Regions from separate parts of the Homo sapiens genome. Here regions 2, 3, 4 and 5 are each linked to region 1. The links are contacts of gene promoters, found by promoter capture Hi-C in human tissues and cell types (Jung and others, 2019). All regions are on one chromosome and are shown on one strand. The core of a region is centred on a gene start or on the middle of the fragment in contact, and the rest is flanking DNA. Distances in the headings are between cores, read along the strand shown. Region 1 holds the start of TET2 (tet methylcytosine dioxygenase 2). Region 2 overlaps LINC02503 (long intergenic non-protein coding RNA 2503). Region 3 overlaps LINC02503 (long intergenic non-protein coding RNA 2503). Region 4 overlaps LINC02503 (long intergenic non-protein coding RNA 2503). Region 5 has its middle 110 kb from the start of LINC02503.

Evidence for each region. Contacts are between HindIII fragments. The study calls those that stand out against the background at their distance.
Region 2: a fragment that was not itself captured here is called in contact with the fragment with the promoter of TET2 in region 1 in 1 of the 25 tissues and cell types used here (dorsolateral prefrontal cortex).
Region 3: a fragment that was not itself captured here is called in contact with the fragment with the promoter of TET2 in region 1 in 1 of the 25 tissues and cell types used here (mesendoderm cells).
Region 4: a contact is called between a fragment that was not itself captured here and the fragment with the promoter of TET2 in region 1, in 1 of the 25 tissues and cell types used here (mesenchymal stem cells).
Region 5: a fragment that was not itself captured here is called in contact with the fragment with the promoter of TET2 in region 1 in 1 of the 25 tissues and cell types used here (lymphoblastoid cells).

Annotation. Positions count from the first base shown.
Region 1 is chr4:105,145,471-105,148,170 of GRCh38, forward strand. It overlaps TET2 (tet methylcytosine dioxygenase 2), which reads left to right and starts at 1,406. Exons shown (of 11, transcript NM_001127208.3): 1 at 1,406-1,509. It overlaps LOC124900868, which reads right to left. Exons shown (of 3, transcript XM_047416559.1): 2 at 25-1,491. The coding sequence ends at 803. RefSeq lists silencers at 668-1,347, 2,311-2,380 and enhancers at 1,418-1,587, 1,931-1,980. The HindIII fragment of the contact is 6,833 bases long and covers 1-2,700 here.
Region 2 is chr4:104,028,530-104,031,229 of GRCh38, forward strand. All of the region lies in intron 5 of LINC02503 (long intergenic non-protein coding RNA 2503), which reads left to right. Among named protein-coding and RNA genes, the nearest start is that of LINC02503, 68 kb to the left of the region's middle. The HindIII fragment of the contact is 3,482 bases long and covers 1-2,700 here.
Region 3 is chr4:103,984,625-103,987,465 of GRCh38, forward strand. The region is part of intron 3 of LINC02503 (long intergenic non-protein coding RNA 2503); the gene reads left to right. Among named protein-coding and RNA genes, the nearest start is that of LINC02503, 24 kb to the left of the region's middle. The HindIII fragment of the contact is 5,780 bases long and covers 1-2,841 here.
Region 4 is chr4:104,010,487-104,013,257 of GRCh38, forward strand. The region is part of intron 5 of LINC02503 (long intergenic non-protein coding RNA 2503); the gene reads left to right. Among named protein-coding and RNA genes, the nearest start is that of LINC02503, 50 kb to the left of the region's middle. The HindIII fragment of the contact is 4,054 bases long and covers 1-2,771 here.
Region 5 is chr4:104,067,260-104,069,959 of GRCh38, forward strand. No RefSeq gene overlaps it. Among named protein-coding and RNA genes, the nearest start is that of LINC02503, 110 kb to the left of the region's middle. The HindIII fragment of the contact is 8,203 bases long and covers 1-2,700 here.

The sequences.
Region 1 (2,700 bases), core at 156-2,655:
TATCTGACGTAATATGATACTTACTATGACTCATATGGGCTTTGTTCTTCATCTCATCTTCAAATAAAAAGTTGATGATTAGAAAAAGGAGCATTAGAAGGGGGAAGTAACACTACTCGGCAATAGAGAAAAACTCCGGTCAAAGGAAGAGCATAGTTACAGAGCTCCGAATGTCAGGGAAAATCAAGCATCCGTCATTCGGAATTAGCTCTGTATCGGTCGGTTTCTTCATTACTTAATTGTACGGGGGGAAACTACTTCAAAGTAAGGGCTCTTACGAGAGGCAACTTAAGCATTTGAAAGTGCAGGTTTATTTCCTCCTAGCGAGAAGTAGGGGGTCACTAGTGAGAAACCTATTTCAATCTGTGAGACGCCCCCTTCTACTCAGCCCACGTGGCTAAAGTAAACAGAAGGTGGGCCGGGGCGGGGAGAAACAGAACTCGGTCAATTTCCCAGTTTGTCGGGTCTTTAAAAATACAGGCCCCTAAAGCACTAAGGGCATGCCCTCGGTGAAACAGGGGAGCGCTTCTGCTGAATGAGATTAAAGCGACAGAAAAGGGAAAGGAGAGCGCGGGCAACGGGATCTAAAGGGAGATAGAGACGCGGGCCTCTGAGGGTAAGGTGGGCGCAAGCGGAGGTGTGGTGCGGGGAGAGGTGCCAGTGGGTGGAGGCGGGGGCCAGAGCGAGGGCACGTGCGGGTACACTCCGGAGGAGGTGGGTGCGCGCGGGGGCGTGTGCGCGGGACCTCGAAGTGGTGGTGGAGTGCAGACCAGCAAAAAGTTTCAAAGGGAAATCTTAGATGTCACGTCTTTGTCCAGGCACCCGTGCCATCCCAACCTCCCACCTCGCCCCCAACCTTCGCGCTTGCTCTGCTTCTTCTCCCAGGGGTGGAGACCCGCCGAGGTCCCCGGGGTTCCCGAGGGCTGCACCCTTCCCCGCGCTCGCCAGCCCTGGCCCCTACTCCGCGCTGGTCCGGGCGCACCACTCCCCCCGCGCCACTGCACGGCGTGAGGGCAGCCCAGGTCTCCACTGCGCGCCCCGCTGTACGGCCCCAGGTGCCGCCGGCCTTTGTGCTGGACGCCCGGTGCGGGGGGCTAATTCCCTGGGAGCCGGGGCTGAGGGCCCCAGGGCGGCGGCGCAGGCCGGGGCGGAGCGGGAGGAGGCCGGGGCGGAGCAGGAGGAGGCCCGGGCGGAGGAGGAGAGCCGGCGGTAGCGGCAGTGGCAGCGGCGAGAGCTTGGGCGGCCGCCGCCGCCTCCTCGCGAGCGCCGCGCGCCCGGGTCCCGCTCGCATGCAAGTCACGTCCGCCCCCTCGGCGCGGCCGCCCCGAGACGCCGGCCCCGCTGAGTGATGAGAACAGACGTCAAACTGCCTTATGAATATTGATGCGGAGGCTAGGCTGCTTTCGTAGAGAAGCAGAAGGAAGCAAGATGGCTGCCCTTTAGGATTTGTTAGAAAGGAGACCCGACTGCAACTGCTGGATTGCTGCAAGGCTGAGGGACGAGAACGAGGTCAGAGCGCTTCTCTTATGCCGCGAAACTCTCCCTTTCTTCTCCCCTTCGCTTTTTCTCGGGCTTCCAGGGACTGGGGAGCAAACCCTGTAGTGTCACCCACAAATACCAAGAGGGAAGAGGGAAGCTTCACAAATTACTGGAGCCTCTTCAACATGGCTGACAAATATAGTTTTAATTCCCTCTACCCCTTTTAAACCTGTAGTTCTGTGTTCTCTTCTCTCCTCCTAATGCTCGTCCCCTCATCTCCCAGAAAACTTACCTTTGTGCCTCCGACGAGCCGGTTTCCCGGCCTTTTTTAATCCTCAGAAAAGTGATTTTTAAATTTGCTTTCCTTTCTAAAATAGTTCAGCTTTGGGGGCACTACTTTTCCCTTTAATCCTCTTCCCCTGTTTCTTTCGTGTAAGTGAAACGAGTCTCCCGTTTATCCTGAACAACCTCAGAGAGAACACTGATAGGGTGTTTTTCGACCCTTTTATCAGCTGTAGGGTCTGGGTCTGGGTTTGTGTCTGCCTCCTCCTACCTTCTTATCCCCCTTTAGGGGGCTGTACGAAGTGAATGTCACAGGGAGTGGAATTGGAGTACACTGAGTGGGTTTTTTTTTTCCTTAAGTCCGCGCGTTTTGTTAGCGGCGCTGAGTGAAAGAGGAAAGAATAGTTTCTCTGGTTCCCCAAACAAGACCAGAACTCACTTTTCTCAAGGTACATAAGTCAGCGCTGGGCTGAGCCTTCCAGCCTGGGGAATGTATGTAAGAGAATTTATGGACAAATCTGTGTCCCGGCTTTGTGCTTCTCCCGAATCAGCTTCGTTTGGTTCCTTGGTAAGTGACAGGCAGACACAAAGGCAGGCGCAGGCCCGGGGAGGGGGCGGGAGGGGGTGGGGAGCGCAGCGTTGGAGTTGCAAGACTGCAAGGTCAGGGGCGCCTAAAGAAATGAAACCCAATCCCAGCAAAGAAGTGAAGAGCAGATTTATAACAGTCCCATCCAAATTTCTCTTTGGCTTCTCTCTTTGGTCTTTCATCTCTCTGCCTTTCTCTCTGTGTCTCCTCTCTACTCTTTCTTCTCTCTCTCTCATACACATACACACACACACACACACACACACCTCACTCGCATCTTGCTGAATCTTTTCACTGGGACTGCTTGTCTAGTTTTATTAAGCTAATAGGGTTTGTATGGAGAGTTTTCTACC
Region 2 (2,700 bases), core at 168-2,667, 1.1 Mb before region 1:
AAATATTTTAAAATCTAGAATTTCTATACCCAAACTCTTTATCATTTGTGAGTTTGGTCAAAGAAATTAAAAAAGATATGAAGGTGTTAAAACATACTCACCTATGATACAAGAACACACTAAAACTTAGGAACCTAGGAAATAGACACCTAAGCTATGAAAGTGGTGACAAGAAATACCAGGTTGATGGCTTTGAGGCAGCAGACAATCTAGATTTAATCTAGATTGAAACAGGAATAAAAAAGGTTGCAGAAAAAGAGATGTTTAGTGGGGCAAATAAAACTGATCCATGCAAAAGAATAGTGTTCTCATTAAAAATCTGACATGTATAAGGCCATTGTTTCCGACAGACCAGATGACAAAGCCTGCAGAACTGACAAAACTGTCAAGGCATTTGAAAATATGAAGTATGTTCAACAGGTATTTGAAAAGTCTGCTGGCGTAGGAGGAAAATATCAATTGGATCATGAATGAATAAAAGGATGAAACATAAGCATTTAGTAGCTCCCTGGGAAAAAAATTTCTCAAATGAAACATAACATAAAACACTACTTGATTTAATGGTGAACAACATTTACATAGTCATAACAATATAAAATCTGGATATTGAGTTAATTAAACATTGTTCCACAACAGTATAGAAGGAAAGTGAGGGGAGGATCAATGTAAATGAACTAAATTCTTCTCTATCTTAACAGGAAGTCAACTGATATTATTATGGTAAATCAATAAATAGCAGTACAAATGTGCTGTTCTAAAAAGGGATAGACATACTAGAGTGAAAAACTAAAAGAACTGAAAGTGTTGGCCTCTGAAATGCAGAAATAGGGATAGAGATGATTGGTATTAAAATTGTCAATATCCTCTAATGTATTTAAACTACATACCATGTAATAATTGATGAGTTTGTCAAGGTATTTGTTTTTAACATAGCTTTTTTCCTAAATGCATTCAAATGCATTTTAGCAGGTGAATTTCCATAATTCTGCTATTCTGTGTAGATTATAGTCTTGGATAACAGGCAAATAGATATATAAATAATATATGAAGCCTTATTTTCTGCAAAATTTTAGTATTATATCTGCATTATTCAGTACTATATGGATATTATAATACCATTGTACTATATATGTGTGTATATGATTTATTGTATCTTTAGTTACTTATCTTCTGCATCTATAGAATGGTTGACTTCAGAATAAGTTAGAACATCCTTTTATCCTATGTAATGGGTAAGATATGGTTAAAATAATTCAAATAATGTCTTAGTCTGAATTTTGTATTATATTAATTTTAAGCTTCCTGATTAATTTTGCTATTCTATTCATATGTCAAATGAGTAGTGTTAATCATCTCTAATGATCTGTGTCTAGCCTCAACATACAATATCATATCCTGCAGTTGTAAGTCTTTGAACAATATATCCATGTAACAAACTGCCCTTGTACTCTTTAAATTTATGCAGATTAAAAAATATCAAGTAAATACAAGTAGAACATCAAAGTTGATCATTTACATTATTTACATTACATTGGACAAATCATTTACATAAAATCAAACAAATGATATTTTATTTGCAAATTTAGTTATATAAGAATGTCCTTGCTATAAGGTTTGTGTTAAGATCTTTCATATTGAATATATCCATTTAAATAGATTGTTATATTACTACTGCTCACACACACATATTATCTCTATTGACCTCAATAACATCTTTGGCATCTCTTCAATTGTCACAAAGCTTATCATGTTCACTTGCTGGCAATTTAGAGATTTCTAGCCTTTCCTTTGCATTAAATCTATAGCATTGACTTTTACTGACAAGTAAACTATATGTGACAGAATTTATTCTTTTATGTGTGCTATCTAAAATCTTATTCATACTAAACTTTATTTGCCCTTCACAAGTCATGGTTTGTGTATATATTAAAAGCCATAGTAGTGTACAAACCATCAGAATGTCCTGTGAAAATAGTTACATATATCTCTGAAATCTGTTCCTTTTACTCCATCCTACAACCACCATCCAGCCATCATCCCTCATTTGGACTACTGCAATAGTTCTATCAGCACTTAGAAACAGCTTTCACACATCCTGTTTCCTGTGGTTAGAAACTCATTTTTTGGTGTTTTAGCAATGGCAACAAAAGCCAAAATTGACAAATGGGATCTAACTAAACTAAAGAACTTCTGCACAGCAAAAGAAACTACCATCAGAGTGAACAGGCAACCTACAACATGGGAGAAAATTTTCACAACCTACTCATCTGACAAAGGGCTAATATCCAGAATCTACAATGAACTCAAACAAATTTACAAGAAAAAAACAATCAACCCCATGAAAAAGTGGGCAAAGGATATGAACAGACACTTCTCAAAAGAAGACATTTATGCAGCCAAAAGACACATGAAAAAATGCTCATCATCACTGGCCATCAGAGAAATGCAAATCAAAACCACAATGAGATACCATCTCACACCAGTTAGAATGGCGATCATTAAAAAGTCAGGAAACAACAGGTGCTGGAGAGGATGTGGAGAAATAGGAACACTTTTACACTGTTGGTGGGACTGTAAACTAGTTCAACCATTGTGGAAGTCAGTGTGGCGATTCCTCAGGGATCTAGAACTAGAAATACCATTTGACCCAGCCATCCCATTACTGGGAATATATCCAAAGGACTATAAATCATGCTGCTA
Region 3 (2,841 bases), core at 146-2,645, 1.2 Mb before region 1:
GAAAGGGATGCTATAGCAAAGGCCCATGATTCTAACATACAAGATGACCTTGCAGTAAGTTTGAGAGAGACATTAAGATATTTGTCCTGAATTCTTATTTAAAAAATTCTTTTCTAAAAAATTCTTTTCCTTGAAATAAGCATGTAGAATTATTCAGATTGTTGTTTAAATCATATCTCTGCCCCTTACTAGTTTAAAGCTTATTGTTTAATGGTGGGGTTTGAAGAATTTCTCACTTCCCTTTCCAAGTTTAAAACCAATTGGGAGTAAATGATGTAGCTGATGTTGAAGAACATTGTTTCACAGATTGGTGATGATTTGACTCCTAATATTGCATCCTTGAAATAGGTGTATTTATCTAGTTGCTCACTATCATTGGCCTCCCATGGGATGCTGCCTTGTAAAATTTAAGGCAAGGAGAAGCAGAGGAAAAGTGTGTGCTGTCTTCAGTGAGGACCCTGGCAAGAATGGTTTATTTATCTGCCTTTATCTATCTGACAAGAAAGATTCCAATACTTTTTCAAAATTATGCCATCTTGAGAAGTTATTTTTCTCCCTTGAGAGAATTTGAAAGTGAGTGGGTAAGTCAAGAGTTTTTAAGGAAATTTCCTCCTCATGGAAAACAGAAGAGTAGGGGATAACCATCTGTCTCTAATGCTTTGGCAATATTTTGGTTCTTCAGTTTAATAACGATGTCATAAGTCATTGTTTGTGTTCTAAGTTATGTTCCATGATCTGCTCTCTGCGAACTGGAGACCCAAGAAAGATGGTGTAATTCAGTCTGATTCAGAAGACCTGAGAATAAGGGAAGCCAATGATAGAAATACCAGCGTGAGGGAAAAAAATGAGATGAGATGTCTAGGCTTAAGCGGTAAAACAGAGAAAAAAGGGGGTAAATTCCCCCTTCCTCTGCCTTTTGTTCTTTTCAGATCCTCAGCAAATTGGATGATGCCTTTCCTCATTAGAGAAGGCAATCTACTTTCTTTAGTCCACTGATTCAAATCCTAATATCATCCAGAAAAACAGTCACCAACTCTCTCAGAATTAATGTTTAATCTTGGCACCCCATGACCCATGAGATTGATCCATCAAATTCACCATCACAGTAAAAAAAAAAAACAGAGAGATAACTTCATAAGTCTTAACAGAGTCCAGCCTCAATTTTAAAATCTAAATCCAGTATCTCCTTCAGATATCATATACCATATCACATACCATATCATCAGATATGGATGAGATTCAATGTATAATTCATTCCAAGGCAAATGACTCTCCAGATATGAACCTGTTACATCAAACATATTCTATGGTTCTAAAATACAATGAAGGAACAAACATAGGATAGATATTCCTATTCCAAAAAGAAGAAATAGGAAAGAAGAAGGAAGTTAGAGATCCTGAGCAAATCCAAACCCTTAAGGTTTGAGAATAATCTGCGTGGACTTGATGCTCTGCCTTCCATGCCCACTGGGACAGAGGTCCTTCTTTCAGGACCAAGTGAGGCAATGGTCCCACCTGTGAAGTGTTGTCTGGCACCTGTCTTTGGGAAGCCCAACCCCTATGGCTTTGCTGGGTGCAGCTTATGCCACGGTTTTCATGGAGTCACATGCTGGTGGCTCTTCTGGTCTGAGTTTTCAGAGTCACCCCTGTCCCTATGGCCCTGTTGGGCATTGCTTTAGTGGAGACTTTTTGTGGTGGCCCTCCCCTTGTGGTGATTCCCAGTCTGGGCCCCACAGCTCCCCAGTGCATCCTTTGAAATGTAGTGGAGGCAACCATGTTCCCACAGTTTTGCTGAATGCGGTGCACGCCACATGAGGTCCTGCCAGAGCTGCACTTGGGGCAGCCAAGCAGAATGGTGCCAGAGTGCAGGAAATGGATCCTATAATGCAAAGCAGTTCTGGGCAGCAGTGTCTCTTTTGAAATCATTCTACCCTGTAGGCTCTAGCATTCTGGGACTCTGATAGGAGGGATAGTCCTGATGATCTCCAAAATGTTTTCAGGTCATTCTTCCATTGTCTTGGACATTAGATCCTGGTTTCTATTTAGATGCTGACAAGTCTTCCCATATCTGGATGAATAACATCTGGCTTCCATTGAGATGGTCAATCCATACGAAACTCATTATCATAATGTCACTTGGCCTCACCCCTATTGTCTCCCAAAAAGGCTTTCTTATTTTTTTCCAGTAGGTAAAGATTGAGCATTTTCTCAGTTTTTAAGTTCTGCTTCTCTTCTGATTAACAATTTCATCTTTAATTCATTTCTCTCTTCTTGCATTTTACTATAAGCAGTCAAGAGGAACAGAACTTCATTTTCAGTGAAGTAAATCTTTCATTCTGCGAAGGAACACAGAATATGATACATTGATTGTCTGGGAATCTTCTTCGTACTCCTCAGGGCTTTGAACCTTATAGGACTATAGGGCTATAGGACTCTATGGGGGTAAGAAACTTGTTCTTCTGAATGTCTGCCTACAAATTCCATTTTAAATGAAAATCTTCCATTTGTTGGGAGAACACTCAATGTAATGCACCATTCAGGTAGGAAACTTCTTCTTACTACTCAGGACTGTTTACCTTTAATGGTGTATGGGATCCTATGAAGGTAAGAAATTTCTTTTGCCAGCTTCTTCTCAATGTTTGCATAAAAACCTATTTTTTTCTGCTAAAATCTTTCATTCTGTGAGAGAACTAAGAATATGATAAACCATTCACCTAGAAAGCTTTTTCTTACTACTCAGGGCTGTTTATCTTGAATGACCAATAGGAGCATATCTATTTGCTTAGACAATTCCTCAACCATATATCCAATTTTATGACTCACAAGTTCTAGCTTCTACAA
Region 4 (2,771 bases), core at 163-2,662, 1.1 Mb before region 1:
TACAAGTATCCCCACAGAACAGAATGAAAAGAAATGTATAAATCTAGCCAACAAATACAAAAATCCTAATTTAGTAAGGATTAATAATTTTGTTAAAGTGAGAACCAGGTGATAAAATTAATTTTAAAGGCAAAAATCACAATTACATTTGCACCAATCTAATATTGCAACATAATTTAAACAGTGGAAATTCCTGCTAAACCGCTTATATCCACATCAGGCATTTGCTGTGTATATATTGTGAATAAATTAAAATAAAATTATAAGGTTAACTATATAGAGTTTAATGTTAATATATTCAAAATATATAATTCTGTAATTTATGTGTGCATACATTCCTTTTGCTAGTAGGTGTTTTAGAGAGTTCAGGCCAGATTCTTTTCACTGGGCCACTGCCCTCATCCCATAGGTACTTTGAATATGCTTCAAAGGGATTATGTCTCCAGAGAAATGCCACTGGGCTGAATATGCTTAGGAGACTACAACATCTCTCCACCCATAACAACAACGACTGACACACGTGGGGCACAGGTAGCAGAAAAGCCCAGCTCCTTTCTCTCAAAGCAGGGTATCATTGCTGAGCAAATCACAATGTGTACTTCAGGGCTCTCTCTCCCTGAAATGGATCAGGAACAAGTCTAAACTTTATGTGGGACCACATCATTGCTCAGCCCCTTCCCTTTCCCCATCCCGTGTAATTCTTCATGGGTTTTTCCTCCAGAGTCCTTCTGTAAGCTATAATGCACCTGAGTCTCTGTCTTAGGCTCTGCCTTTAAAGAACCTGTTTGAGGACTCTTTTGGATAATGTGCTACTATTATGTGCTTTTATGTTGAGAGTTTTGCTGAAAACCAAAACTTCCAAAGCCAGTGCTTCCGTCACCGTACTTTTGCAGTCCAAGTGGACTGAAAGCAGGCAAATTTCATCAGGCTTGGTATCAGGTATATACTGACTGCTGTGTAATGGTCCCATCTAAGAAAGAATGTAAGAAAAAAAAATCTAGGGTAGTTTATGAATAGTCATCAAAATCACATCTAAGTGTAAATTTTCACGCTCTCCTATACCAAGTATTTCTTTGCTAATAAAATGAAAATTTGGCCCTTCAATCTGAATGGCCATTTTTTAAAAAGAATCTATATACATTATGAGTAAATGACACATGGTTTTGCCAAACTCTTAACTAGCACTACCTATCTAAAATTGCTACATGCATACAAAATGGGCACTATTTGACTACAAATATCCTTTCAAGCAGATCTGATAAAATATTTTAACTATGGATATTTAGAAGCTTAGTCTTAGCCTAAGTAGTCATCATTTTTCCCTGATGATCCTTAGAATAAATCTATATACAAAAGTAATTTTTCAATTTCAGATTCAAATGTGCTAAATGTTATGACAAAAATTTTAATTTTTATTGTTATTCTGAGAAGTCTGTTTACTTTCACAAATTTCAGACATTCTTTGTTGCATCTCTTTCTCTCGTTGCACAACCTGGTATTTCTGTGCATAGCTCTTACTGCACTGAAAATACTTATCTGATTCTGTTTGCAGAAATAAATGGTGGCTTAGTCTTTTGTACTCCCTTATTAAGCTGTGCCCAGTATTTGCTTCTCAAAACCGTACCCTAGCAGACCACCTGACTGTGGCATCCTTGTTTCTTAATGGACTCTACCTTAGAAACACAGTTACCATATCAGTAGCTTTACTGATCCTTTCTAGTCTTGTTGACCATTTCATTTAGATTAACCGATAGCCTTGAGGCCAATGTTAACCACCCTAACCATGACAAATCATCTGTCTCACTTGTCCCTTAGGTTTAAATATTCCCTCTGTGCATAATAGGAAGCACTATTTATTCTGTTATCACAGAGTTTTGAAGGGGAGACTATGTGCTTGGCAGCCAAAAACATCTTTCCCCATAGTCTTTTTATAATCTCTGCTTTCCCACAACTGTACAAAAAGAAGAGAAAAAGTAAATTTGAGCATCATTCAAACTGATGAACTGCTAGAAAATTTAGCTTACATTTAAGTACATATTTAAAAGAAATTTTCAATTACTATAGGATCTGCTATGTGCTAGACACTAGGATAGGCACAGAAATATAAGAATATACATCACGATATTACTATCTTTAAGAGTTTAAATAGGAACATCCATATTAATAATATTTATAAAATAATGAGTCATGTTTAGTACAGGTAGGAAGAGCTATATAAAGAGGATGTCCCAATACTGACAAGGAATTTGGAGATAGCTTCACTAAGGAAGTAGTATAAATTGAGCCTTGAAAAACAAGAATTTTTTTATCAAATAGATAAAATAATGAGGATAAAATAATCAAATTAATGATTCACATGGTCAAAGGCACAGAAGAATAGTAGAACATAGCTTGGTTAAATATTAGGAGTCTGCAATGCATGGGCATATAGTAAGAAATCAGGAAGGTAATTTGGCAAGATGAAACTGGAAAGGTAGATTTATTTGTAATTATTCTTAATGAATCAATAATAGCTTTGGACTTATTTTTAGGATTTAATGTTAGGCAACTTTTGTTCAAATGGGCAAAGTCAGAAAACAGCAAAATATCTATGAGTCACATTTTTAAGATTCAAACTGAACAAAGCTTTGAGTCCTATAGGAGAGTGACTACATGTACTGTGTGTGTGTGTGTGTGTGTGTGTGTGTGTATCCTTGCAAGCTATGTTATTTATTTTACTGAATACGAGAATACCAGTAAGATAATTAGAATTCTATTTTAGTCACTAAAAG
Region 5 (2,700 bases), core at 94-2,593, 1.1 Mb before region 1:
AAACAGAAAGTAGATTTGTGGTTACCAGAGGCTAAGAGGTGGGGAAATGGCAAGATATTGGTATAAAGTTTCAGTTAGGAGGGAAAAGTTTTTTGACATCTATTCCACAGCTTGGTGATCACAGTTAATAATAATGATTGGCAAACTTCAAATGGCTAAAAGATAAATTTTTCTCACCACAAAAATAACAAGTATGTGAGGTCATATGTTAATTCACTTGATTTATTCCTTCCACACTGTATACATATATCATAACATCACCATGTACCCCAATATATATACAATTATAATTTTTCAGTTTATAATAAAAAAATGCTGAAACACTGAACAATACCAATGCTGTATAAACTACTGCAAAGCATAAAAAAAGAAGAAAAGCTCAAATAGATTCCAGGTTTGTTTTACAAAACAAGTTCCTTATACATGTCTTGTTCCTTTTGCATACTCCTATCCTTCTTGTCTTAAACACAGTTGATAGAAAAACTTCAATGATCTGAATGCCATTGATCATGTTAATTTTTTTGTTCATAATTTAAAAATTATTTTCAAAATAAAAAAGGAGAGGGATGCTATATTTTTTCTATCCAAATGTTTTTTTATTGATAAATAATAGTTATACATACTTATAGGGCATATGTAATATTTTGATATACTCATACAATGTATAATGATTAAATCAAGGAAATTCAGATATTTATCACCTGAAACATTTATCATTTATTTGTGCTAGGAACATTTCAAAGTTTCTCTTCTAATTATTTTGAAATATACAATGTATAATAATTAACAGTAGTTGCTCAACAGTGCTATCAAATGCTAGGACGTATTTCTTCTACGTAACTATACCCTCTTATTTACTGAGAAACAACCCCAACCTAGTGATTCAGAATCAAACAACTATTTACAGTCCAAAAATTACCATTTAGGTTTTATACAGTCAAAATTAATTTCCAAGGAGTTAAGATGTTTATCATTTTATCAATGACAAACATAATTAATATTAAAACAAAACACAAGAGAAAATCTATAGTAGAAGTAGACTGTTCCTACTTGCAAGATTTCTAATAAGTTTATATTCTTATACAATGTCCCATTGAAACATCTATGTTTAAACCTGGTTTCTACTCACTACTCTGCTAAGAGCCACAATGTTCAAATAGCCCTGATCTACCTTATCCTGATTAGCAGAACATTCTGTCCACTTTATCAAACACCAACTGACTAGGCCATATCTCTGAAAAAAATACTTCTTTTAGTTATTAGATTTTTTTCAGTCTACCTTCTTTGAGCTTAATTTGGGGATTAGAGTGTTCTGTCTGGTAATCATGAGAATTAATATTCTCTTATAAGTTAGAATAAATCTCCCATTTGTCTTACTTTGACTCAGGGTGTTCTTCTATCTGAAATCATGTTAGTGTTCCTCAGCTAATGTTACTTCTTTTATAGTTTATTGGAGGACTTATAATTTCTTTTTAAAGAAATAAAATGAATGAATTATTAACTCATACAAGCTTAATGCAACATTTTACAAGTAGAAAATCCATTTAAAATTAATGTATATTTATTTTATATTTCTTATAACTTCTTTTTTTATTATACTTTAAGGTCTGGGATACATGTGCTGAATGTGTAGGTTTGTTACACAGGTATACATGTGCCATGGTGGTCTGCTGCACCCATCAACTTGTCATCTACATTAGGTATTTCTCCTAATGCTATCCTTTCCCTTGACCCCCACCCCCTGACAGGCCCCAATGTGTGATATTCCCCTCCCTGTGCCTGTAGGTTCTCTTTGTTCAACTCGCACTTATGAGTGAGAACATGCAGTGTTTGGTTTTCTGTTCCTGTGTTAGTTTGCTGAGAATGATGGTTTCCAGCGTCACCTATGTCCCTGTAAAGCACATGAACTCATCCATTTTTATGGCTGCATAGTATTCCATGGTGTATATGTGCCACATATTCTTTATCCAGTGTATCATTGATGGGCATTTGGGTTGGTTCCAAGTCTTTGCTATTGTGAATAGTGCTACAATAAACATACGTGTGCATGTGTCTTTATAGTAGCATGATTTATAATCCTTTGGGTATACCAAGTAATGGGATTGCTGGGTCAAATGATATTTCTAGTTCTAGATCCTTGAGGACTTGCCACACTGTCTTCCACAATGGTTGAACTAATTTACACTCCCACCAACAGTGTAAAAGCATTACTGTTTCTCCACATCCTATCCAGCATCTGTTGTTTCCTGGCTTTTTAATGATCACCATTCTAACTGGCATGAGATGGTATCTCATTGTGGTTTTGATTTGCATTTTTCTAATGACCAGTGATGAGCTTTTTTTCATATGTTTGTGGGCCACATAAATATCTTCTTTTGAGAAGTGTCTGTTCATATCCTTTGCCCACTTTTTGATGGGGCTGTTTGTTTTCTTGTAAATTTGTTTAAGTTCCTTGTAGATTCTGCATATTAGCCCTTTGTCAGAAACAGATTGCAAAAATTTTCTCCCATTCTGTAGGTTGCCTATTCACTCTGGTGCTAGTTTCTTTTGCTGTGCAGAAGCTCTTTAGTTTAATTAGATCCCATTTGTCTATTTTGGCTTTTGTTGCCATCACTTTTGGTGTTTTAGTCATGAAGTCTTTGCCCATGCCTATGTCCTGAATGGTATTGTCCAGGGTTTCTTTCAGGGTTTTTATGGTTT